Linked DNA regions of Homo sapiens: region 2 is linked to region 1. The links are contacts of gene promoters, found by promoter capture Hi-C in human tissues and cell types (Jung and others, 2019). All regions are on one chromosome and are shown on one strand. Each heading gives the region's core, a stretch centred on a gene start or on the middle of the fragment in contact. The rest is flanking DNA. Distances are from core to core; before and after follow the strand shown. Region 1 holds the start of OR51D1 (olfactory receptor family 51 subfamily D member 1). Region 2 overlaps MMP26 (matrix metallopeptidase 26).

Evidence for each region. Contacts are between HindIII fragments. The study calls those that stand out against the background at their distance.
Region 2: a contact is called between a fragment that was not itself captured here and the fragment with the promoter of OR51D1 in region 1, in 5 of the 25 tissues and cell types used here (H1 embryonic stem cells, aorta, mesenchymal stem cells and 2 more).

The regions. Positions count from the first base shown.
Region 1 is chr11:4,635,622-4,638,964 of GRCh38, reverse strand. It overlaps OR51D1 (olfactory receptor family 51 subfamily D member 1), which reads right to left and starts at 1,488. Exons shown (of 2, transcript NM_001004751.3): 1 at 1,212-1,488. The HindIII fragment of the contact is 12,772 bases long and covers 1-3,149 here.
Region 2 is chr11:4,899,885-4,903,227 of GRCh38, reverse strand. The region is part of intron 2 of MMP26 (matrix metallopeptidase 26); the gene reads right to left. Among named protein-coding and RNA genes, the nearest start is that of OR51A7, 2.2 kb to the left of the region's middle. The HindIII fragment of the contact is 6,232 bases long and covers 1-3,343 here.

The DNA of each region.
Region 1 (3,343 bases), core at 239-2,738:
AAAAGTTAGCCAGGCTTGGTGGAGCGCACCTGTAATCCCAGCTACTCAGGAGGCTGAGGCAGGAGAATCATTTGAACCTGGGCGGCAGAGGCTGCAGTGAGACGAGATCACCCCCACTGCATTCCAGCCTGGGTGACACAGCGAGACACCAACTCAAAAACAAAACAAAACAAATAAACAAACAAAAAACGATAAGCCCCTTTCCCCTAGGAAATTTGTGCTTTAAATCAGAGAACTTTGGGGAAAGTTGTTCTGGTGTTCTTGGGGGCAGGGAGGTGAATGAAGAGGGACTATCATTTCCATTTCCAGCTCCCAAACGAACAATAAGCAGCATCTGCCATCAAGATCTCTCAAGCCCCAGGTGAGAGTCAGTCCCAGGTTGCGCTCAGCAAGAGGAGCATGTCATGGAAATCAGATGCAGCTGAGACATGAACAGAAAATCAGCCAGTGCTGCTGCTGTTACTCCACAGTGTTCACAGGCACACACACCTCTCCCTCCACCTACTCTCCCTGGTGATCACACAACGTCCCAGGCTCAACTTCTTTCTCTCTACAGACCACACTGTTCTAAGCCTGTGTCCTGAGATTCAGCCATATAACCTACCGCCTCCTTGATAGTTCTACCTGGATAGCCTATGGGCCTCCCACTCATCTTGCCTCTAACAGGGACCCCTTCCAAACCTGTTCCTGATCTCAGAGAATGCCACTGCTCAGAACCCACATCACCCAAGTCAGGGCAGCTGGTCTCATCTTGACCCGTCTCCTCTTTCACCCCCACATGCAATTCAACTTTTCCAATTAATTATTGGGGCCGTTCCTCTTAATACACCTCCTCCCAACTTAATTATATTATCCACTCTGCCCTGATTATAAAAAGAGCCTTCCAACTTACCTCCCTGCCTCCAAACCTAGTCTATTCCAAACCACCTTCCACACCACTGCCATCTAAACAGCAAAACTGGACACCTGGGGCTCCTGCTGAGCAAGTTAGGAGTGATTCCCATAGCTTTCCAGATAAAGTGAGAACTAGTAACTCCACAGTATGCAGACAAGGCCCTTCACAGTGTTCCTCTAACTCAACTTTCCAGCCCAGCTTCAGTTTCCTTCTTCATCACCAATCACCACCAGCACCACCACAACACACACGTGCACATACACACACACGTACACACTCACACACATTTTTTTCCTGGTAAAGTAATTCCCCTTGCCTTGCTTAAGTGAAGAGTAGGAGGCAGGAACTGAGGAGTCCTGTCCTGGGACAAAGGATAGGCAAAGCTTGGAACGGGTCTCACAGGCTTGAAGAAATTCCTCTGTGTAGGAACAAGGTCCAGGAACCGGGCTACTGTGATCTGGAAAAGGTGTACACTAGAAGACCTCTCCAAGCAGCCAAGCTGACTGATCAAGTCCCGGCTTCCTTATGCAATGAGCCTTCTGTGCCTGTCTCTGCGGACCCTCCCGTTGCCTAACCTCCCTGGGCTGAGCCTGCTACACTCACCACCAGTGCTTCCCCAGCGCATGGAGGCCGCCCAATTATAGCTTCTCTGGGGCCCCTCAGGAGTGTGTAGAGTGATGGAGAGTGAACGAGTCGGGTCTCCCTGGCACTGACGCTCTGCTCAGACGCCCAAGGAAAGCTGAGCCCTGACTCCTACCCAAAGGGACTGAGCTCTATCACTATCCCTCTGAGCCCAGCTCAAGAGACTAGAGGGAGGCTGTGTCGCGGGGTGGAAAGGAGAAGAGGAATAACGGGGCTGGAAGAGAGGACCTGCTGGAATGGAGGGGTGGGCACTCAGCAGAAAGCACGCAGGGATACCAGCGCTCCGAACACACTAACTACCCAAGGGGATCGAAGCTGTGTCAGGGACTCTCGCTTCTTCATGCTGCCACCTTGTGGTCGCACAGGGGATCTTCAGCCTCGTGGCCGTCCCTGAGCAATGGCTCTGAGGATGATGCCTTTAAGAACCAAGGACCCAACTGACTCTAGCATCTGAGCTCTTTCCACTACTCTGCGCTGCCCCTTAGCTCTCCCTCTCACCCTCTCAAGCCCACCCTTTCTTCCTTGGGTCGCTAATCATAGATGTCCTGTCCCTCCAGAAATGAGACCGTGTGGCATGTTTGTTTGAACATGGGGCTCTAGAAGGAAACAGACTTGGGTCCGCCCATTTATTAATAGTATGACTACTATAAGCATTTAGTGTGAAAGCATTTAATGTGAAAAACGAAATGAGATACTAGCAAGTCTCCAGTGAATGTTTGTGTTCATTATTACTAGTCAAAACAAATGGAAGAGCCAAGGACGTAGGAAATCCAGTAGACAGTGCCACAAAAGAGACAGGAAAAAATATATTGACAAGGAAGATTGGTCAGCAGTTCAGAAAGCTGCCGAGAGATCAAGCAGTGAAAAGACTGAAATCAAAGGTCACTGGCTACCTGGATAACAGGGTGGGGGATGGAATCTTGAGTGAAGCAGTGTGAGGAGTGTGTTAGGAAGAGATGAAGAGAGTCGATGTAGACAACCCTTTTAAGATATTTGTACGTGAACAGAGGAGTGAAATGGACAATATTGGGAGGATTTATAGCTCCACAGAGATTTTAAAATGTGTATTTTGGAACTAGAAGAGACTAAATGTCAACAGGATGGAGTTGGCAGAGAGACTCCTTGTCCTTTACTCCTCACATTACTGGTAGCTATGGCCCAGGAAGATAATCTGTCTTCCCCCTCTATATAGTAACTATGAGTAATCTTACTTTGTCCAGTAGCTTTCATCACCCAAGCAGGCCAGACCAATCTCCTAAACTCCAAATATGGTAAAGTCTATTGGACATAGGTGTCCTTCAGGCACCTCAAACTCAACACCTAACTCATCATTTCTAAGCTCATTGATTTCATTATCAACTAAGCTCATCATCTCTGCTCTTCAATCCGGACCCCGCTCCCTGTCTGTTTTATGTTCCCTGTCATATAAATCACTCTGTTGGCCATGTCAAAAATTTAGAAATCATCATCCCTGCCTTCTCCCCATCTCTCTCTCACCTTCCTCTCCAACCACATCCAATCAGTCACCAAGTTCTGTTCATTTTATCTACTAGATATCTATTTTGTGAGTCTGATTATCTTTCTCCATCTTTTTTGCCTTTTCTTCATTCCAAGCCAAGACAGTCTTTTGCCTAGATCATCAGAATAACTTGTTCACTGGTCAGACTCACAGAAGAACTTCCCTACCAATCTGTTGTCTATGCTGTGGCCAGTGTGATCTTCCAAACACATATCAGTTCATGGCAATTCTCCATTGCCTTTAGAATGAACAGTTGAATTCCCCATTGCCTGTAGAATGAACACACT
Region 2 (3,343 bases), core at 521-3,020, 260 kb before region 1:
GCCTTCCACATTATATTGCATTCACTAGAACCGTCCGAGGAGTATCCTGCGTTTTATTCACATATTTCTATTTTATATGTCAGTTCCATCATGGTTTAAATTAAATAATAATTATTTAAGGCTATGAAACAATATAAAAATGTGAAGACAATTTAAGTAAAAATGTATAAAATAAGGATATATATATAACTGTTTTAAGTATTTCTTAAAGCATATTTCTAAGTTAAAAAGAAAAACTTTGGTTAAAATAATGGAAAGCCTTACATTAATAATAAAATAATTTTAATTAATACAATTTAATGGAATAATAATATAAAAGACACAACATGGCTCAAATACAAAATACATATATCTGTGAATAAGAAATGAATAGAAATTTAAAACAATGAGCAGGGATAAGCCCACTCATTGCTAGTTCCCATGTCTGGAGAAGACGATCAACTCCCATAAGATAAATGAGATTACATATTCTCCATGTTAAGTTATCTGAAGCAAATAGACTTATTAAATGTCATTGGGCTATTCTAGCAGATGCATTTGATACCCACCTTATTATCTTGGGACTTAACATTTTATTATAAGTTGCTAATTGGAAGAAAATATTTGCAAAAGACACAAGAATTCTTGAAACTCAATAAGAAAACAAACAACACAACTAAAAAGTGTGTCAAACAATAGCAAAGACATGAAACCAACCCAGGTGCCAACAGAAGGTTGGATAAAGAAAATGTGATACATGTACACCAGGGAATACTACACAGCCACAAAAAAAGAACAAAATCGTGTCCTCTGGAGCAACATGGATGCATCTGGAAGCCATTATCCTGAGCAAATTAACACAGCAACAGAAAACCAGATACTGTGTTCTTACTTGTAAGTGAGAAAAGATTCTAGAAAACAGATTGCCAATAAGAAATTCTAGAGTTGGATTCATCACTGTCTGCATCACAATAGGAACCACATCACTGGTTGCAGATGAAATGTTGATGGTCCCTGACATGCTGTAGCAAGTTATTGTTAAAATTTTCATCTGAAGTGAACTGTAATAGTACCCAGAGGAAAGGTAACTCACAAGATTTATTTATAAATAGAGCATTCTCTGTAAACTGGATTCTCTTACTGGCTACTTTTGTGTGTGTAACGAAAAGGGTCATGGAGGACTACTGTGGACTCCAATCTCAACCAAGTAGAAACATCAGTTTAAAGTTTTATGTCAGGTGCAGTGTTTTTACCAGGGAAGATTAAGATTAACCTGGATTCGATTATCAAGTATGTAGTATTTATGTGGCAAATATATTCTCTTCCATCTTCTATAATAAATCTATAATTTGAAAATACTTATTTTCTTTGGATATTTTGCATAATATTTTATTGACCCACTATATCAATGACAATATATTAATCAGGTAGACGAGCATGAAATGCAAGTATATTGGCATTCTTGTCAAAACACAGTGCTCTTTAGGTGGGAAAGGATAGAGATAAACACCCATACAAAAAAGTAGGAATCTTAAACATTAGAGAAGTTTTTAGGGATCCTGCGGTATAGGAAAAATTGCGACAGCCTCTCTCAGTTAATAGACAAACTAAAGCATTTTTTATCTTTTACCACCAAGAAGAAAGTACCACATGTAGTGACCTCCTGAAACCCCGGAGGCAGCATATGCCACACTTTGAGTGCTAATTCTACTCACATAACAGAAAGACGTATGCCCATGCTAAGACACAAGTAAGACCATCAAGCACAACTGAAAGAGCACAAAGAGGGGGCCGGGCATGGTGGCTCACACCTGTAATCCCAGCACTTTGGGAGGCCGAGGCAGGCGGATCACAAGGTCAGGAGATTGAGACCATCCCGGCAAACACTGTGAAACCCCGTCTCTACTAAAAATACAAAAAAATTAGCCAGGTGTGGTGGCAGGCACCTGTAGTCTCAGCTACTCAGGAGGCTGAGGCAGGAGAATGGCATGAACCCCGGGGGGCAGAGCTTGCAGTGAGCGGAGATCACGCCACTGCACTCCAGACTGGGCGACAGAGTGAGACTCCGTCTCAAAAAAAAAAAAAAAAAAAAAAAAAAAGCACAAAGAGGTGATGCGAAGTCCACTGATGTTAGTGCACTACTATTGCAATGTGGTGCACTTTCCCTAAGCTTACACTTGTAGCTACGTGGATGATCCCTTATGACCAGCTGGTGGGGGATGAAAGCCAAGTTAGTTCATAAATGAGTAAAGTTGGTATGCCAAAAATGAACTGTAGATGTGTTACTGATCCATTAAGGAGTGACTTTGAAAGATAGTACTTAGGAGAAATACATCCCACGGACAAATCAGCTGATGGACTCACTCATCCTCTTTGTATAAAAAAGAGGTGGTTCTATGTAAGAATACACAAAAATTCAACTTATTGTTAATGGTGGGTAACTTGGCTAATTGACCAGGCTGTTGGAAGGAGAAAGACTGGAATACTAGTGACAAAGAGGCAGAGGGATGAAGTGGCATGTGGATGGTTCTAGAAGTTAGAACAAAGTTTGAAGATCTTTATATAAAAGATCAATGTTCATCATAGTCTATACATAATGGAAAAGAACCTAAGCTATAAAGAACACTGAGTGGACCTGACAATTTATATCAGCTAGATTCTGATATAAGCAACCTCAGTGGTGGCATAATTGGCTCCTAATTGAAGTAGCTATAGTGGCAGGATGAAAACTGCATAAACACAAAGCATAGTTTCCCACTCAACAAGGCTGATAAAACTTCTCTTTCTACTAAATATTAACCTGGCAATGATAGAAAACAATGTTAACTGCCCAATGTAGCATCACTTCTTGAGTAGAAAATGGCCACTTAATGGAAGATTATTCTACCCCACAAAAGGCAGCAAATGAACTTGATAGAAATTGACACATATGATGGGTGTAGGTTTGTTTTATTTTCTTGAAGAGTCATAGCCAAACCTAGTATCTCAGGGCTTACAAAGGGTTTGATCCACCAGCATAGGACATTATGTTATATCACTTCATGAAAAGGGACACATTTTAGAATACTTGCAACAGTAGACACACAACCATGCTTGTATCATGGGCTACACCACTCAAAAGCTTCCAATCTGGTACAGAAATAGAACAGGTAGAGTTGAGTCTCCACCTTAGAGACGACATTAGTGAGGATGAGACAACATACCCCAGATGCGTCATGTACAACACACCAACAATCATTATACATAGCTTTGACTGCAATGATTAGAATAAATATATTTGGGAACAAAAGAGCTGAAATTAAGAGTAGTCCCACTTACCATCATTTTTGGTGACCTACTTGGAAAATTTGTGTTTCCTATTTCT